Linked DNA regions of Homo sapiens: region 2 is linked to region 1. Evidence: promoter capture Hi-C in 16 types of primary human blood cells and fetal thymus (Javierre and others, 2016). All regions are on one chromosome and are shown on one strand. The core of a region is centred on a gene start or on the middle of the fragment in contact, and the rest is flanking DNA. Distances in the headings are between cores, read along the strand shown.

Region 1 (4,204 bases), core at 1,212-3,711:
GAGTGGATCCAGCCTCAGCTGGAAGACCAGAGAGCCCGACTCCCCAAATGACCTGCTTCCTTCCCTTGCCCCAGCCTGCCTGAATCTCACCCCAGCCCTCTCAGTTGTTCATTTGTAGCTGGACAGGGAATGTAGCAGGCAGCGTAGACCGCCAGGCTGGGAGGCATCAGCTGAGACTGAGCTGGGAACCCTGGGACTTGGAGCCAAGGCCAGCTCTGCCACAGAGCACGGAACCTGGAGGCCACTCTCTAGGCCTCAGTTGCCTTCTCTAGGAAAGCTAGTGGTTCGGTCTACAAGAGCACTAGGCCTGGAAGGCCCCTCACTGGTTAACTCGCAAACCTGAGGTGAAGAAGGAGGGATCCGATATTTACTGCACTCCTAAAACTCAGCACTTCACACACTTAGTCCCCCAAATAGGCATACTTGTTTTATGAGGATATCCTGTTTGAAGCCCTTGGCAAGGTTTTGCAAATAAACAGAGGTTCAGAGAGCTGAGGGCTTCATGTTACGGGGTAAGGAGCTGAGATTTGGACTCGTCCATCTGACTCCAAAGCCAGACTATCCCCAGCACTCAGCCAGCGACCTTTTGCCCACTCAGCTCTCAGGTGTGCGCCTTTGGACTTCACTCAAGAACTTTCACTTTTTAACCACCTGAAGCCCTGCCCAGCACCTTGGTCTCTGATAAGTCCAAGAAGGGAAGGGCTGTGGGCCAAGGATAGGAGATATGAATGGGAGAGGAATCTACCTGTTTGACATCTCTAGGCTGGAGAGGGAACATGTGTGATCCCAGCTTGACCTGGCCTGGTCCTGGGGACCTCAGCAAACCTGGGGCAGGCTGTTCAACCCCCAGGTGGACAAGTGGCCCAGCCTGAGCTCCCTGCTGGCTCTGAGGCCAGCATTAGACTGTGTCACTTCCATACCTGCTGCCGGATTGCCTGGCTGAGGCCACCTGCTCCATTTAAGCCCCCTTCAGGACACTAGTGACACCATCTACCCCACCCCGCCCACTTACCCATTAGACATTCACTAAGCACCTGCTCCTTGCCAGCCCCTCTGCAGGCCACCAGGGACAGAGATGAGTAAGACATAGTCTGGGTCCTCCAGGTGCCCCTAGCTGATTCAGTCAGCTTCGGATGGGACTTGGGGATCTATATTTTTAACAAGCCTTGCAGGTGACTGAGAGGACACACCCAGGTGAGACCCTTTGGTTTTGTGGACCTTCTGGCTCTCAGCACTGTATTCTTGGGGCTGCCAGAATCCCCGTGAGGACACAGCCTGTTTCGCCCCAGTGGTAGGTTCCTCTGGGCTCCAAGTCAGATAACTCTGGGTTCAAATTCTACTTCTGCAACTTCCTAGCTGTGTATCCTTGCAAAATACGTGGACTCTCTGAGGCTGTTTCCCCATTTTTAACAAGAGATAATGGTGCCTTCCTGTTGTGAGGATTAACTGGGATATTGTGCTCAAAGCCCTTAGCAAGATGCCTGGCACACATAAATGGGAATATCTGCTGTTAATTATATTATGGCTGCACTCTGATGGACAGAAATACCTCCCTGGGGGCATTTCCAGAATCCCCACTTCTGGAGCCCATCTCTGAGGTGGCCCTGGATATTTGGGAGGCCTCTCTGTGCCCTCTGCCAGGGCTCCAGCGGGACCTTCCTGCTTCTCCCCACGGATCCGGCTTTCTGGTCCCCAAACCGCATATTATCTGGGCACACCCTCCCCTTCATTTACCCAGAGTGACCAAAGTTCCAACCACACCTCTCCGGGCAGCCTGTCCCCAAATTTCGGGGAAGTGGGCAGGAGGGGGAGCTTTGCCGGGCAGGAGGGGGAACTTTGCCAGGCAAGGGCTCCGCGGGCAGAGGCGGGCACTGGTGAGGCCAGCCTCCTCCTGGGGACCAAGGTCGGGCGCCCCTGCCCAGCCCCTGCACCTGCCCCTGTCCCTGCCCTGTTCGGCTGCGAAGGGACTGGGAGGTCTGGCGAGGAAGAGCCTGGAAGATCCCCGCCCACAGCTACCAGCCCTCCTTTGGGACCGCTGGCCAGAGCCCCAGCCGTGGGGCACACGGGACCTGTGGACTCAGCCGGGGTCATCCGGAGGGGCGCCCACATCTGCACCCGGGGCTCCGGAGCCTGCTCCCCGCCACTGTCGCCGCCGGCCCTGCCTAACCTGCGCGGCGCAAGCGGCTTCCACGCCTAGGGAAGGAAGGCACACGGGGTGGGGGCCCCGGAACCCGGTTTCTCTGCCGCCGGGCGCACGTGGCTCGGTCCCAGGGGACAGAAGTCGCCTCCAGACGTGTGGCGGCACCCGAGGTCCGCGCAGCGACGGCGCAGGGTGCAACCGGGCGGGCGTCTCGGGGACCGGGCGCAGCACGCAGCCCCGCGGAGACCGGGGGAGGGTACACTCACCTCTGCGGCCCGCCGCTCGGAGCGACCGCGGCAGCTGAAGGTCCGCGGCGAAGGCGGTGGCTCGGCCCGAGGCTCCTCCTCCCCCGCGCCCCACCCGCCCGGGAGGGCCGGACCTGCAGGGGAGGTGGCCGCCCTCCAGCCCGCCGCAGCTTATCCGGCTCGGCCACCTCCCCCGGGGCCGCAATCAGGAGCCGCCGGGTCCTCGCTCCCCGCCCAGCCCTGCACAGCCCCGGCAGCGGTGGCAGCGTCCAACCACCCTCCTCCCCTGGCCCCAGGCGGGAGGTCGCCAGCCGGCGCCAACACTTCCTGATTTGCAGTGCCCGGCACACGGCTGAAGTGAGCAGAACTCCGGGACCTCCTCTTAACCCGGCCACGGAGGGCACCGAGGCCAGGGTGACCTCTAGGCCCCCCTCTCTTAACCTGAGGAGCACCTCGAATCCTTGTCCATTTTATAACCGAGGCCAAGTGGCAGCCACGGTTGCAGGTGGGAAGAGACCAGGGCTCCAGATTGGGTCCGGATCCCTTCCCTCTCAACAAGGTTGCGCCCAGGCCTTTGTGGTCCCCCCCCAATCTCTGTCCCTTGTCCACCCTTAGGGCAGACTTTTGACCCTTCCCAGCAGTCCTCAGGTTCCAAGACCGGTGGGATGGCGGGTACCTTTCTCCCGGAGCTGCCTCCCTGTCTAGGCCTTCTGGGCTCTGAAACCCTACCCGTCCCCCCTTCCCCCTGGGGCACTGCCCGCTGCCCTCCGCACTTCCAATGCCGATGGCTTCACAGCACTGCAGCGAAGCAGGGCGTAAGTAAGGGGAGGCTGTCTGTGGGCACCTCTCTAGAGGTGTGCGCCCTGGTCCGAAGCCCCTTCTCACCTGTGGTCACATTTGCCGGCTGCAGTTATTTTCTTTACAGGTGAGGAGACCCGGGCTTTTCCGCTCAGATTCGTGGAGGCTGAGTGGGGGTTCCTGACCCCTGGTACTCTTTCTAGAGTATTCCTGGGAGACATACACTATTAGCCTCTGATAAGGAGCTTCAGGTTATTTTTAGGAAGTCTAAGAATCCTGTTTTCTGGGGAGCCAGCCTCTGTTGGGGAGATAAGCCTCCGGAGGCCAGAGGCAGGAGCTGGGCCTCAAGGAAGGCCCCACAACTGGACCCCAAAGGGCACGGTGGGGAGGAAGAGGCAGAGCTCTGGTCTCCCTGTGGAGGGAGTGCTGCTGTAAAGCGCCTTTCCCTCCACCCCCAACTCCCGCCGAGAACCCCCCCACCCCCGCAGGCAGTTTGCTTTCCCCCTCCACAGCTTTCCTCCTACCCGAATACCCACCTCCCAGCTCTCTGCTCAGCCAGGGCCCAAGGCCAGAGCCTCTCTTCTCTTGCAAGAACTTTCCTGTCCCACCTTGCCCCAGGGCAACACCTCTTATGGCAATTCTTACAGGTCCTTTATCCATTCAACACTCACAGTGCCCCAGGTGCCAGACAGTGCTCCCAGTGCTGGAGACACACGTGCCCAATGGAGGTTCCTGCCCTTAGGGTGCCAGGGCTGGTGAGTGGCCCCTGCAGTGGGTTGTAAACTTTGAGAAGACAAGACCCAGTTCCTAGCCCCCTCTGGTGCCCCTAATATGCTCCCCCTGCAGTAGCTGTTCTTTTGATGCCTGCTCCTGCTGATGGGGATGGCTGAATAGCCTTCCTTTAATGCCCAAGGACAGCACAAGGAAACCGAGCTTGGGAAATGCAAACACTGAGAGGTCTTCCAGCATCTTTGGAAGAATCCCTGGGAACCAGTGTCTTTTTGTGGGGCTCTCCATGCAT
Region 2 (4,204 bases), core at 919-3,418, 310 kb after region 1:
GGGAGGCCGAGGTGGGTGGATCACCTGAGGTCAGGAGTTCGAGACCAGCCTGGCCAACATGGTGAAACCCTGTCTCTATTAAAAATACAAAAATTAGCCAGGTGTGGCAGTGAGGGCCTGTAGTTCCAGCTACTCAGGAGGCTGAGGTGGGAGAATCACTTGAACCTGGGAGGCAGAGGTTGCAGTGAGCCAAGATTGTGCCACTGCACTCAAGCCTGGGTGACAGAGAGAGACTCCATCTCAGAAAAGAAAGAAAGAAAGAAAGAAAGAAAGAAAGAAAGAAAGAAAGAAAGAAAGGAAGAAAGAAAGAAAAAGAAAGAAAGATAGCTCACCTTTTTGGGCCAAACCAATAACTTACATGTATTGATTTATGATTTTGCCTGTAACTTCTGCTTTCTGAAATGTATCCCTGCCCTTGAAAGCCCTTTTTTGTAAGCCATCGAGAAGCTCAGGTCTTAAGTGTTAGCTGTTGAATTTCCCTTGCTTGGTGCCCTGCAATAAATGCTTTCTTTCTCTCCCTGCAAATCTCAGTGTCAGCGTTTGGCTTTGCTGTGCTGGGTGAGCCGACCCAGGTTCAGTTCAATAACATTTTGCAGTTCCCAGACTGAGGAGGAAAATCAGGCAAGTCACTCAGAGACTGACAGGAATTCTTTACAAAACCCTGCAAGACAACTGGTCTTATCCCCATTTTACAGATGAAAAAGCTGGGATTCAGTGAGGTGATATAACTTACTAAGGTCACACAGCAATTTGGTGGCATCACTGGCTTCAAGCTACAAATCCCATCATGATGTGACGTGCCATTGAATATGGTGACAGAGCTTAGAAGAAGGAGGGTGCCTTTTAAATCTACTTCCATTCAGAAGGGCACGTATTCTTCTATTCCCTGAGAGTGGCTTTGGTTTCCATGCCCAGGAACATTGTGGCACCTTCATCATGTGCCCTGTACACATGGGCATCCTGTGCCACTTCCACTGGGTCCCACCTCCCACATGTTCTGTTTGGTGCCCTGAGCAAAGGCGAGGCCGCCAGAGGCGCCAGGAACTAGGGACGGTCCTAGATGCTCTGCCTCAAGTACAATGTTAATAATTTTTGTGATGCTGACCGGGAGTTCCTTTTAGAATGATAATCTGATATTCTCGTTTTGTCAATTTTTTAATGTTGTTCAATTTTCTGTGTATCTGTATGAAACCTCAAATATTATGTGGAACAAGTTGAAAGAGAAAGAGACTGAAAGAGAAATAGTTAATGGTGAAGGCTGGTGGTTAGGGAAGGGTCAGAGACTCTCATGTGTCTAGCCTGTTTAGGAAAGCCCCTTCCTTACATCTCTGACCAGCATCCTTGACTAGCACCCGTGATACATAATAATCCTGGTCACTAATCCATATCCAGACATCAGCCCTGTGGTGCTCTGATCATACATGCATGAGTCAATGAATAGCACCATCCTCAGCATTTGTTGTTGTTAGAAAAACTAACAACATTGTTCCTACTCAAGGAAGTTGTAATCTTGCTAGAGACAAGAATCTAGATTCTGAAACAATCAAGGTTATAAACAAGGGACAATCAGAGGATGATACACAGGAGCAAATAAAAACGATTTTCCTTTTGAGAAGAACATTCTTTCTTCTATAACACGAGAAAGTGGACTTTGGCAATGATCTATGCAGAAACCTCAGGCCACAGATCACTGGGAAATTAAGAGCCCTGCTTTGGCTTCCTGAGGACTCAAAGTGGCTGTCTACACGGTGTAATAACTCAGATGAACCAGGCCTCCTCTCCATGAACTGTGTAGACATGGCCCCAGGCTTGGAGGCCTCTGGTTGCAGATTGGCTGCACAGAGTATCGAGGTGTCTGGCTGAACTTTTCCTTATTCCAGCAGATGTTCCAGAGTCAGAGACTGGATGATGGTGTCTTGGAGTTCTCAAAAGATCCTCAGCCTTTATAGGAGCTAGATTCTTTCCAGATCAGGGCTCAAATATCTGGTTCTTCTCTTCTTCCTAGATCCATGGAAGATTTACTTCTCAGCCCCCTTGATTTAGTTGGAACCATGTGACTAGTTTTAGCCAATGCCCCAAGAGTACAAGTTACATGTAGTTAAAAGCAGGTGTGGGTGCTCTATGCTCTCTCTTGCTCTGCTACAGTGACTCAGGAAGCTACACACAAAGATAGTAGATATATAGGGTAGAAAAAGTATGAATTTCTTAGTCATCACATGGGACAGCTGCCCACTAGAATTCTACAAGGAAGAAATAAACTTTGGTTGTGTTCAGCAGTTGAGATTTCAGTATCAATTTGTTACTGCAGCATGACCTAGCCTGTCCTGACTCTTTGCAACATCCCAGACTACTGATTGGGAGAAGAGGCTGGGAGAAGGGTAGAGCTTGGATGGAAATCCTTTTGTCTGTCTTTGGTACGCTGTCTTTGCATTTGATGCTCTTATGCACCCTCTTCCTCCCCTTCCCTCTCTTCTTCAGTTATCTGAAGACCTACCATGGCACTTTTCCTCTGCTCTGCCACTACAGACAGAAGGACTTGCCTGATGGCCTTGTTTCATAATCCATTGTAATTCAGAAAATATTAGGGCCAAAGCGGGGACCAGAGCCTATGCAGTTCAACATTCTCAATGAGCAGAGAAAGAACCTATGGCTTAGGAGGTAATATGAGTTGCCCAAAGCCACACAACACCTGGGCGACAGGACTCATACCCAGGTTTCCCGGCTCCAAGGCCCATATTTTCTCCTCTGTCTCTATCCATTGACCTGAATCCTAGTCTCATCTGGAGGGTTGATTGTCATGTTATTCTACATTTCTTGTGTCAAGAAAAAAGTTTTGAAATCTTGTAACTAGACAGGAAGTACAGTAGGTCCTTCAATGTTTTACCAGGGCATTGTTTAACAAACCGTTTTTAATTCTCAGAGAGAATGTACTTGTGCTTGACTATGGTATATGCTATTTGGTTAGCACCTAGGCACTGGGAAATGACATGTTTAGCTGCAGATTTCTGTCTGGCAAAAAAAAAAAAAAAAAAAGATAACCTCAAATATTATGCTGTTATTGCCCTGTAGGACATTAACCAGTTTTGATCTAGCCTAACAATCTTCCTTCTTTCTTTCTTTCCTTCCTTCCTTCCCTCCTCCTCTCTCTCTCTTTCATACTTTTTCCTGATGGACTATATCATTCTAAGTCATGAAGTGCTCTTGGAACCAATTTTACCATATTACTGGTCTCTCATTATTTAATTCAAAAGTTGAGTAAAATCTTTGGCACACATTCACCCTATATTGGTAAGAAAATTTATGTTTCTAACTTTTTGAAAATTATATGCTGACACTTGAGAGAAGTGTCCATGTTTTTTCAGCTTTGTACCACCATCACCTAGCATACTGTGTGACCTGGAACTGGAGGTCATAATGTTTACTGAATGAACAACGGAACCTGGGCCTATTCATCTAGGTTATAGATCTGCATATCAGCATTTTTAAAGTCTAGACTCAGCAGTGAAGCTCTGATATGGGAGTCTTGGGGTCCAGGAGAGTCTATTGGAGGAAAGGTTTGGGCTCTCACCAGCCATGACTGATCTTTCTCATAGGCATTAACTCCATCTTCACTCAGGAACATGGCACTTCTGTCCTGATGGCCTTCGAGACAGCTTTTGCTCAGTGGGAGAAGTTGGAATGGGTGTATTCCTCTAGGGCCCCTCTTGGACAGACCCAACTGCGACCTCTATATTCCTTTAGCAGTTAGGAGGGAGGTGGAGCTGCATTCCACTCACTCCTCCCTTCCCCCTGTGCTCCATCAGCTTAGCCACCACCTCTGATATTCAAGGGAGCCACATCAGGCAGCCCGAAGCCAGAATAGCTTGCTCTGCGCCCTCCTACTTGTTCTAATTATAGCCTTTAAACACAAGATCCCAGGCCTTTAAGACGAGGTTTATAATGGCGTCATTCCCTAGAAACTTTTATGGGGACTCTTTGGGTGGTTTTCCCTTCCACCTGGAAGCACTGCCAGGTCCTCAAAATCTTAAGGCTAGCTAGCTTTCCACATCCAATAAGCAGACCCTTCTGCCCAGAGGAAGGTCTTCCGAATGTCACCAAGAAGGCTTTCTTCAAAAGGAGCAGTGTCCTTTGCTTGTCCAGGAACTTCACTTGGGCTGAAGGAAATAGTTCATTCTGCCTTTCACGATTTCTCCCTTTCCAGCAG

Evidence for each region. Contacts are between HindIII fragments. The CHiCAGO score rates a contact against its expected background, and 5 or more counts as called.
Region 2: a contact is called between a fragment that was not itself captured here and the fragment with the promoter of STEAP3 in region 1, in 1 of 17 cell types (M1 macrophages). The highest score is 5.0, in M1 macrophages.

Annotation. Positions count from the first base shown.
Region 1 is chr2:119,222,091-119,226,294 of GRCh38, reverse strand. STEAP3 (STEAP3 metalloreductase) reads right to left here and starts at 2,461. Exons shown (of 6, transcript NM_182915.3): 1 at 2,407-2,461. RefSeq lists silencers at 1,809-1,878, 1,939-2,718. The HindIII fragment of the contact is 5,957 bases long and covers 1-4,204 here.
Region 2 is chr2:118,908,889-118,913,092 of GRCh38, reverse strand. No RefSeq gene overlaps it. Among named protein-coding and RNA genes, the nearest start is that of MARCO, 31 kb to the left of the region's middle. The HindIII fragment of the contact is 4,597 bases long and covers 1-4,204 here.